Linked DNA regions of Homo sapiens: regions 1 and 2 are each linked to region 3. Evidence: promoter capture Hi-C in 16 types of primary human blood cells and fetal thymus (Javierre and others, 2016). All regions are on one chromosome and are shown on one strand. The core of a region is centred on a gene start or on the middle of the fragment in contact, and the rest is flanking DNA. Distances in the headings are between cores, read along the strand shown.

Region 1 (3,544 bases), core at 169-2,668, 550 kb before region 3:
TTTAACGTAGTCTCTCTCCAAGCAATAATAATCATGAGTTTAATGGGCAAGTAGTATATACACATACAATAATAAACAGATAACTATAAAATGAAGGTTTGTGAAACTTCTAAACCCACAGTGCTTATGCATGCATCTGACACTGCGGCCCACTGGCAGAGGTGTGGTTGCTGGCCTGCTAACTTCCTCTATCACTTTCTAGAGTCTGGCAATAGTAAGTGGATTCTTGTCTTTTCCTTCTGTGGTTCATCTTCCTTCTCTCCTTCCTCTTCTTATTTCCCCTTCCCTTCTCCTCCCTCTTCCTAATCTACTGTTTTCTTCTACTCTACTTCCTCTCCCTCCTTCTCTTCTCCCCCTTCATCACCCTATTCCATATTTCCGCCCTTCCTATTATTCTCCCTGCTTCTATCCTTCCTTTCCCCCTCCTATTTCCTCCTGCCTCCTCCTCTCACTCTTGCCTCTTTTTTTTTTTTTTTTTTTTGAGACGGAGTCTCGCTCTGTTGCCCAGGCTGGAGTGCAGTGGCATGATCTCGGATCACTGCAAGCTCCGCCTCCCGGGTTCACGCCATTCTCCTGCCTCAGCCTCCCGAGTAGCTGGGACAACAGGCGCCCACCACCACGCCTGGCTAATTTTTTACATTTTTAGTAGAGACAGGGTTTCACCATGTTAGCCAGGATGGTCTTGATCTCCTGACCTCGTGATCTGCCCGCCTCTGCCTTCCAAAGTGCTGGGATTACAGGCGTGAGCCACCGCGCCCGGCCTCTTTTTTCTTATCCTCTGACTTGGGTCAGGTACTGACCTAGGTCTTGGCTTTATCACTTATTATAGGGTATGTGACTTTGGACAAGCTGCTCTCTGAACTTCAGCTTCTCCATTTTTAAAAGGTAGAAAATAATATTAATACTACCCATCTGGGAGGGTTCTTTTGAGGATTAGAGGTAATATCATTAAGAATACTAACACATATTTTTGAGACAAAAGTAGCTATTTTATCGTTAAGTCTCTGTGGCTAGCAGGTTAAATTGTGAGCTGGACAGTAACTAGTTTAGTTTGCTGAGACATTCATGCTGGTTCTATCAGGCCAATGCTACACTGGATAGTGGAGGAAGAGCACTGGGTCAGGAGCTGGGACTCCTGGGCTCTAGTCCCTGCTTCGATATTTGCAACCAAAGTGAACACAGACAAGCCAGATTATCCAGGACTCAATTCTTCTATTCTTACACTGTCAGACCCAGAGCAGCTGGGTCAAGTATTTGCCTTAATGTACAGCTAGTTGCTTTTATATATGTCAGTGTTAAGCTTAAAAGCCAAACTGAAACTATTTATTTCAATTTGGAGAAAAATTTAAAACTGTTCTAACCTCTCTTTTCATTCAAAACACTCATTATTTAATTCCCTCTTGAATCAGCCCAAATGGGTCCTGGCAAACAGATGGCCCCACAGTACTGATCTGGTCTCAGCTGAGTGCCCAAAGTGAGAGATAATGGCAATGGGATATTCTGTTACTATGGCTTTATGTAAAGAACATTCAAGTAGAAGCTTTTACCAATGTATGATTGAGGGGGTGGTGGTGGGTCCCTGTTTTGCATTAATCAAAATATTCACTCTCTTTCTAAATTGATTATTTGTATAAAATGTTTATCTCTATGCTTATGAGTAGATCTGATAAATCAATAAATGTGTTTCCATGTTTTCTTGGCTTTCTCTCCTTGCCCTCTGACATTTAGTGTGTGAAAGTAAGTACCCTCATCCTTCACACAACTTTCTGTTAACACACATGCTGACCAGGAGAGACAGTCCAAAAAGGCTGGCTGAAACTACCAGGCTGAACTGACGGGGACTGTGTGTGAGTGTGTAGAGTTAATTACTACAGAGCAGTGAGTCACACTCCATTTTTTTGCCTCCTGTACTTACCTCCAACAGATGAGCATCAAATCCTTTTATTTTTGGCCCAGGAACTGGCGGAAAGATGCAGGTCACCATGCTATAAAATAATTCATGAGATTGGCTAAATGACTCATTTCTGACTTTGTAATTTTTGAAAGGTTAGTATAATAGCCACTATAGGGACTGTGATAGAGATAGGACTTGGTTTGGCAGCTCCATGAAACAATCAATGATGAAAATAAAATTACAGAGGCCTATATTAAAATTAACTTTAGCTAATTAAGGAGGCTGATTTTGAAGTTAGTGGATTATCTGGACTATTTGCTTCTCTTGATTTTAGCTACTCTTGCCAGATTTTTACTGTTTCACAACTAGGAATCTCTGTTTCATAGAAAGAACATCAGCCTGAAACGAGTCAATTTTTCTACTTTTTATAGCACTGATAAAAGATTTTTTTTATGGGCAAACACACTACATCTAATGGCTAAAATGAGGATTATCTACAGGTTTCCATCATCTTTGTATTTTTTTTTTTGTCATTATCCTTGACTATCATGATTGGGAGGAAAAGTTGAGAGACAGTGAAGTACCTATAGCCCTTCAAAGCCACTGCCCAGACAATAATCAAACAGATGACAGCAGAAAGGACAGCCACAGAGATCCACACGGTTGTATCATTCATGGTGAAGTCTAAAAAACAAACAGCCAGAAAGCTTTGATCACGTACAGCATCATTAAAAACAAACCAACCTAATGAATGAAACTCTTAAACCCAAGAGTGTTTTCCTCCATTCATATATTTTTTTGATTTGAACAGCAATCCAAAGTATCATCAATGACAGGGCTATTCTCTTTTAAATATTATTAATATGTTAATATGTTGCGTATATTTTATAGTACTCTAAAAATTTAAAAATCCTTTCATTATTCTTTTTAATTGATCCTTAAAGAGGAAATCCAAGGTCACATGGTCGTTTGCAGTAATAATAATAAAAGCTAACATTAAGTTCTTACTAAAAGCCATCAATGGTGTTAAACTCTTTGCCTACATTGCTTTGTTATAAAAGATAAGAAAACTGGGAATCAAAGAAAGATTTACCAATGGCCACATAACTATAGTGTTGCAGGCTGGGATTTGAACTCAGGCTTTCTGCCTCTAGACCCTGTGCTTTTGTTAAGCAAGAGTCAGGAGTGGACTAGATGCCTGCCTGATTTGCAGTTCAGTGCCCTTTCCAGCATGCCAAGCCAATGAAAGCCCGATACTTTGGTCAGGCAAGTTGTTAGAAAAGCTAGACTTTCCTGTGTGGTTTTGGAAAAGACTCCTAACTTTGCTGAGGTTTGGTTTCTTCACTTTTAATTTTTAATGATAATCATATTCTCTGAATACCTGGGAGGGTTGGGAGGACCAAATAAGGTACAGGCTTTGTAAGCTGTAAAGCATTTTAAAAATGCAAGATGGATTGTTCCCTTATAGAACACAAGCTACTGAATTAAGGTGCTTTGCTGGAGCTGTCTATCTTATATCCTGTGTCTTCACTAAGAGACAAGGTGCCAAGTGTAATCCATGGCAGAGACTGAGCCTTTGAGACACGGTACTGCCTTATAAATTCTGGAAGAACTAGAGGATGACCTTGACCAAATCCTCTAAATGATGGG
Region 2 (3,785 bases), core at 913-3,412, 520 kb before region 3:
CTGTTTAGGCCCTCTCTTTCCAAAAGCCTCTCTTCATTCTCCCTTCCATTAAGCCAAGTCTCTTCCACGTAGGCCAACAGTTGAGAAAAAGGTCCAGCAGCTTGTGCTTTTGAGAAACTAGAGCCAGTCTCCCTACATGGAAAATCGGGGCCACACTCCCATGGCCTGGGCTGACCATACTATCCACATTAGGAAGGGAATAACATAGGAGAGGAGGCAGTGTGGCCTCATGAGAGTTAAAAATAAACCAGATCTGAGCTCCCAACATACCACTCCCCACTGTCAACCCCTCATCCTCTGCAATACCCTCTCTTAGACTTCACCTTTATGTTCTGGCCTATGCAGTCCCCAAGCCAATCCTGCCTGCCAGCAATCTCAGCCCTACCATTCTGTGGAACTTGCTCCCAAGACTGGTATCTGGTGATCCCCCTGAGTACAGTCCCCAACCTGTCCTGCTGTATCTGTTGCTGCAACCTTCTACTCAGGTTTTTGACTCAGTTTTCCTAACTCCAGAAATGGACCTACCATTAGGGTCCAGAAATGGACCCTGCCATCCCTGTTAGGCAGGGATTCTGAGGTTCTTTTTAGCTCTTGCAAACTCAGTTCCTGGATAATCAAGCAAGGCCCAATCCAACATTTGAACTTTAGACTATCATACATATGACATGCACAAATTGTAAGTACAGTCATGTGCCACATAATGACATTTCAGTTAATGATGGACCATATATATGATGGTGGTCCCATAAGATTATAATGCTGTATGTTTACTGTTCTTTTTCTATGTTTAGATATATTTAGATACACAAACACTTACCATTCTGTAACAATTGCCTACAGTATTCAGTTCTGTGACAGCTGTATAGGTTTGTAGCCTGGGAGCAATAGGCTATGTCATCTAGCCTAGGTGTGTAGTAGGCTATACAATCTAGGTTTGTATAAGTATACTCTATGATGTTGGTACAACAATGAAATCTCTTGACACATTTCTCAGAACTTAGCCCTATCATGAAGCGACACTTATGACTGTATTCTGCTCAATGAAGTATCACAAAAAGAATATATCTATGTTACCACTCAGGTCAAGAGATTAACCACCAGTAGCACCCCAGAAATCCAACTTGCAACTCCTCCCAATCTCTACCTACTCCTTCCTGATAGAAACCATTCTTCCCACTTCTAACAGTACAGATTAATTTTACCTACCTTTGAACTTTATATAAATAGGATCATACAACATGCATTTCTTGAGTGTGTGTGTGTGTGGCTTCTTTCATTTCACATGGGTGTAGGATTCATCCTTGTTGTTACATGTAGTTTTACATAATTCATTTTCATTTCATCTCATTCATTTTCATTCATGTTATATTGAATGAAATACCATAACTCATTTATTCATTCTACTGTGTTGATGGACATTTGAGTTGTTTCCAGGTTTTGGCAAACTTTGGGTTTTGCTGAGATTGATCAAAACTCGAATGGCAGGGAAGCCCTGTGCATTTCATAATCACTCTGTGCTACCCGCCATATCTCCTGTTAACCTAAATTAAATTTCAAGTGCTTTTTTTGTCCTAAAAAGGCAAAAAGTCTCATTTCTTGCAAACAAATTTTGAATACATTCATCCGTTGTTTTCAGTATTAGGCATTGTGTTAAGGGCTTCCTTCGGGGTCCTTGGCCCACTGGGTTTCCTTACCTGCCTTGTTCTACCTGGGTTAGATGGCCTGAGGCTAACATAACAGGGAGAAAACCTCACATCAGGTACCATTTGATTTCCAGGAGTTGGGCTTTTTTTTTTTTTTTTTTTTTGAGACGGGGTCTTGTTCTGTTGCCCAGGCTGGAGTGCAGTGGCATGATCACCGCTCACTGCAGCCTGGACCTCCCTGGGTCAGGTGATTCTCCCACCTCAGCCTCCTGAGTAGTGGGGACTAGAGGCACGAGCCACCAACACCCAGCTAATTTTTGTATATTCTGCAGTGATGGGGTTTTGCCATGTTGCCCAGGCTGGTCTCAAACTCCTGAGCTCAGGAAATTTACCCGCCTTGGCCTCCCAAAGGTCTGTGATTACAGGCATGAGCCACTGCACATGGCAAGAAGTTGGAGTTTTCTTTCCAGTACAGAATGCCAACACTTAATCTGGAAAGTAAAGGACATAATGTGCTCAGGGCGGGAAGAGGAACAGCAGGGATTAGATATTACATACCAGGCTAAAGATTAAGACTGTTATACAAGCTCTGCCCAATGTCAACAGTCAATGATTGTGAATAAATGAAGCCCAAAAGGTGAAGAAAACAGAAAAAGATTCTAAGACATGGGACAAAACTCTGCATATAGGAAGACTGGTCCCACGCTGGTATTTCAAACACTAGACTTACAGCCAGCATAGTTTTCAGTATTTGACAGGGGAATCTAAAGAAGTTTTAAGGAGAACATGGCAGCCGCTCTTTCAGGAAGACATTGAAAACTGAGGATATAGTGCCAAGAGAACCCTGGCCTGCAGGTGGGGAGATGAAAGTTCCAGCTGTTCTTGCTCTGCCAATAATTAGCTTCACACAAACATGTGCCCACAATGAATGTTTATCTGCCCATAGTCCAGGCAGCATATCTATGCATTTGTCTGTGAAAGTTCACAAGAGGACACTTGCTCGTGTGGTCATTCATTATTATTTTTTTATCATCACCATTATCCAGTTTACATTTTGCTGTTTCTTGAGCAGGTTTCCATCTTGTACCCTGTTTTGAGGTACCCATTGGGGAAAACATCCAGAACTTTCCATAGTGAATTACTTTTATATAAAACGTTTATCACCTGGCAGTTTAGTCAGGTGAACGTAATTAGAAGTAGTTTAGAGGCTGCTGTAAAGTGTTCACCTCTGATTCCAGATATTCCCCTGCCCCTCTCCTAGAAATCCCAAAGGTTCCACTGAGGAAAGAACTTCCTGAAGACTCTGCACTCTGTGAAGATCATCAAGAGGAGCGCATGTGCTGTGCATGGTGATGGCTGCATTTGGTGAGAGGTAGATGATCAGCAGAGATAGGATTTGTCTAAACGAGAGCTGACTTAGACCTTGGGCCACTCAGGAATACCTGTGAAGAACCATCTCCTGGCTTCTAACCTAGTCAGGGCAAATTACTCCAATACGATATATGTGCCTTTGCACTGGAGTCACTTTAATAACACAGAACACCGATGCTTCCCCATGGCTGGAAGTATTGCTTCCAAATCTAATCACATTAACTCCACTCACTCACTACAGCTTCCTCATCCTAGCAACATCTTTTATCCCAAGGAGGCTTGTTTTCGAGCAGTCTTTTTGGCTTAAAGGCAAGAATAGGAATTGGATGAGTTTCAATTTCCCCCAGCCAGTGCACATGTAGGACAGATGGTGGAAAACCCACGTTGGCCTGATTTTCAGAGGAACTAGTCCCTCATGAGATCATCAATCAGTTACTAACAATCAAAAAACACCCATAAATCATACATTATGTTTTGCAGTTTACAGAGCTGTTCTATAGACATCAGTGGTTTCTAATCCAGGATTCCCATTACAGTCCAAGGAGTGTCTTAAAATTTCTTTTCTTTACTTTCTTTTTTTTTTTTTGAGACAGAATCTTGTTCTGACACCCAGGCAGGAGTGCAGTGACACGATTTCAGCTCACTGCAGCCTCTGCCTCCCAGGTTCAAGTGATTCCCCTGCCTTAGTCACCAGAGTAGCTGAGATTACAGATCTGCACCATCACGCCTGGCTAATTTTTGTATTTTCAGTAGAGACGGGCTTTACCATGT
Region 3 (3,575 bases), core at 232-2,731:
TTATCAAATGCATATCAAAACCACAATAAAATACCATCTTACCCCAGTTAGAATGGTTATTATTAAAAAGACAAAAAACAACAGATGCTGGAGAAGATGTGGAGAAAAGGGAACTCATACTGTTGGTGGGGATGTAAATTAGTATGACCACTATGGAAGGCAGTATGGAGGTTTCTCAAAAAACTAAAAACAGAACTGCCATAAAATCCAGCAGTTCCACTACAGTGTATCTATCCAAAGGAAAAGAAGTCAGTATATCAAAGGGATACCTGCACTCACATGTTTATCACAGAACTATTCAAAATAGCCAAGATATGGAATAAATCTAAGTGTCCATCAGCGAACAAATGGAAAAAGAAAGAATGGTATATATACATAACGGAATACCATTTGTCCATGGAAAAGAATGAAAACAGGTCATTTGCAGCAACATGGATGAACTGGAGGCCATTATGTTCAATGAAATAGGCCAGGCAACAGAAAGACAAATACTGCATGTTTTACTCATATGTGGTAGCTAAAAAAGTTGATCCCCTGGAGATAGAGAACAAAATTATGAGTACCAGAGACTGGAAAGGATGTGAGGGTGGGAAGGGGAAATGAAGAGAGGTTGGTGAATGGGTACAAACTTATAGTTAGATGGAAGAAATAGGGTCTAATGTTAGCTAGCAACTGGGGTGACTATAGTTAGCAATGATACATTGTATATTTCAAAATAGCTAGAAGAGAAGATTTGAAATGTTACCAACGTATATAAATGATAAATACTCAAGGTGATGGATACCCCAAATACCCTTCTTCTTTTTCTTCCTCTTCTTTTTTCTTCTTCTTCCTCTTCTTTGATCTCTCCTTGTTCTCCTCCTTCTCCTTGTTCTCCTTCTTCTCCTTCTCTTTCTTCTTTTCCTCCTGTTCTTCCTCTTCTCCTCCTCCTCTTCCTCTCCCTCTCCTTCTCCTTCTTGTTATTCTTTCTTCTTTCTTCTTCTTTTTTGAGACAGAGTCTCATTTTGTTGCCCAGGCTGGAGTGCAGTGGCTCGATCTCGGTTCACTGTAAACTCCGCCTCCTGGGTTGATCCTTCCACGTCAGCATCCTGAGCTGGTGGGACCACAGGCGCACGCCACCACGGCCGCCTAATTTCTTACAGAAAAAAAAACGGTTTCTGCTACCTTGCCCAGGCTGGTCTTGAACTCCCAGGCTCAGTCGAGCGCCACCCCCTCCACAAAGTGGTAGGATTATTTGCGTGAGCCACGGAGCCCTGCGGAGACTCTGGTTTTACTTTCTGCTCACCTAAGAAGCTCCTGCTGTGTCCCTAAGTGTTCCCGCCTCGCCTCTCCCCACACCCACTGCTCCCTAACTTCTCTCACAGGCCCCCAACGGCTTCCTCCTGCGCTGGCGCACGCTCAGGTCTTACCCGCCAGCAGGTGGCGAAACACGATTTTCTGTCCTCTGCGGCTGAGCCCTAGCGTCCCCTCTTCTCTAAGGCCTTTCGCCTAGTTCCAGCCTGGATACGCTTCCATAGCAAAGGGTTGCCCTTGGCTACAGGAGGACGCGGGCTGGCAGGCTTGGTTCCTGGCGAGTTTCTAAGCCCCCGCCTGCGGTCTGAGGCACCGGCTGAACCATGTCGGAGATCCTGTGCCAGTGGCTCAACAAGGAGTTGAAGGTGTCCCGGACCGTGAGTGAGTGACCACGGCCAGGGGCGAGCGTCTGAGGGGCTAGCGGGGCGCAGAGCCTGCAGCGCAGCGCAGCGCACTCAGGGAAGGTGGCGGGCAGGGCGCGAGCTGCACAGGTGGGGCACCTGCGTAGCCGGCAGCATCCCACAGTGAGCAACTCGGCTCGGCGGTGCCCCAGGTCCGTCCCGCCACCTCCCTACAGCTCACCCCAGCCAGGGCAAGGCCTTGTCACGTCCCCACTCTGCCGCTCTCGAGTTACCCTTGTCACGGTGGGCCCAACCCGCAGGCATTCTGACTTTGTGATGTGGTTCTAGGCAATCAGAGGGTTTAGGAAGGTCTCCTTTGCTTCTGTGGAGAGGGAACTTTGCTGGACTTTGTAGTCTGACCCCAACGATGCCTCCTTCACATCACCAGAAGCAGAAGCATGGTGTGGTGGCTAGTCGATGAAATATGAAGCCACTGGACAAGTTACAATACCTTCTCTGAATGTGTTTCCTTCTCTATAAAATGGACCTAATAATGCTTTCCATACTTAACTGACCAGCAGGGGAGGGTGGGTGAAAAATAAGTTAATGTAGAATATGTTAACATTTACAAATTTTAGTAAATTTTAAGCCCCAAATCACAAACTAGCTATTTCTGGTCACTATTGGCTCTTGCCCAAAGCTGACCTTATTCACCAACCTAATTTTATCCTAACCATGCAGTTGCCACCCAAAGTTTCCAAGTCTGACAACCACAGAGACAATTTTACATGCTGGCAGCTTCCTTGACTGCCCTGTAATTCTTCAGGAGTTCATTTTTCAGTTGGTTTTGTTTGTCTTTTTTTCTTTTTTTGCTTAAGGGAAGAGGTTTTCAGGGCAAGTCATTTCAGTCCATTTTCCCAGAAGAACTTGCTTAACACCAGCTTGCTACCAGAGAGGCAGTGGTGCCAGTTCAACCTTAGCTTATCTACAGAAGTTGCTAGATCGGTAGTGTTTCTGTGGGTGCAAAGTAGTTATTAATACTCTCAGCATGAGGATCTTTAGCACGGAGCATCTCCTGTTGCATTTCTTGAGGCATAAACCTCAGACTCTTTCTTTGTCAAATAACCATCTACACACTCCCTGTGAACTGCAATAAATTCTTTCCTGGTATTCTACGATTATCCCATTGTGTCTCCAACTGTTTATTTGCTAAAATATGATGGACTGAGGACAATATTTAGCATTTATTGTTTCTTATTCCTGTCTCACCATAGGAGCCAAAATAAAATATCATGCCCTTAAGTTGTACTCTTCTAAAAGAAAAGCAGTTACATATTGCTTAGTTTAATTTAGTTCATTTATTTTATTAGTAAAAACCACACCCGGGCCGGGTGCGGTGGCTCACGCCTGTAATGCCAGCCCTTTGGGAGGCCGAGGTGGGCAGATCATGAGGTCAGGAGTTCGAGACCAGCCTGGCCAACATAGTGAAATCCTGTCTCTACTAAAAATACATTAGCCGGACGTCGTGGCGGGTGCCTGTAGTCCCAGCTACTTGGGAGGCTGAGGCAGGAGAATCGCTTGAACCCAGGAGGCAGAGATTGCAGTGAGCCGAGATCGCGCCACTGCACTCCAGTCTGGGCAACACAGAAAGACTCTGTCTCAAAAAACAAACAAAAAACAAAACAAACAAACAAACAAAAAACACCCTTTGCTGAAGTCCCCAGGACTCTATTGCAACATTTTGAAATACTTTTAGGAGAAATAAATGAAATTAATAAAGATACATAAAATAAAAACAGTAGATGCCATTATAATTTTAATTAGTTTTGGGAATTTAGGTTTTGAGAGGTGGAGGATAAACATAAAAGGGCTGAAGACTAAGTAAGAATTTTAACAACATTTAGGCTATGGATAGAAAATTCCTGGCGTCTGTGCTCCTGA

Evidence for each region. The method cuts DNA at HindIII sites, captures the fragments that hold promoters and counts their contacts. A CHiCAGO score of 5 or more calls a contact.
Region 1: a contact is called between a fragment that was not itself captured here and the fragment with the promoter of SPEF2 in region 3, in 1 of 17 cell types (M1 macrophages). The highest score is 5.7, in M1 macrophages.
Region 2: a contact is called between a fragment that was not itself captured here and the fragment with the promoter of SPEF2 in region 3, in 9 of 17 cell types (naive CD4 T cells, naive CD8 T cells, non-activated CD4 T cells and 6 more). The highest score is 9.7, in naive CD4 T cells.

What each region holds. Positions count from the first base shown.
Region 1 is chr5:35,066,301-35,069,844 of GRCh38, forward strand. It overlaps PRLR (prolactin receptor), which reads right to left. Exons shown (of 10, transcript NM_000949.7): 8 at 2,479-2,578; 9 at 1,916-1,985. Among named protein-coding and RNA genes, the nearest start is that of AGXT2, 20 kb to the left of the region's middle. The HindIII fragment of the contact is 240 bases long and covers 1,299-1,538 here.
Region 2 is chr5:35,093,039-35,096,823 of GRCh38, forward strand. The region is part of intron 2 of PRLR (prolactin receptor); the gene reads right to left. Among named protein-coding and RNA genes, the nearest start is that of AGXT2, 47 kb to the left of the region's middle. The HindIII fragment of the contact is 6,019 bases long and covers 1-3,785 here.
Region 3 is chr5:35,616,382-35,619,956 of GRCh38, forward strand. SPEF2 (sperm flagellar 2) reads left to right here and starts at 1,482. Exons shown (of 37, transcript NM_024867.4): 1 at 1,482-1,674. The coding sequence starts at 1,617. RefSeq lists an enhancer at 1,525-2,332. The HindIII fragment of the contact is 5,837 bases long and covers 1-3,575 here.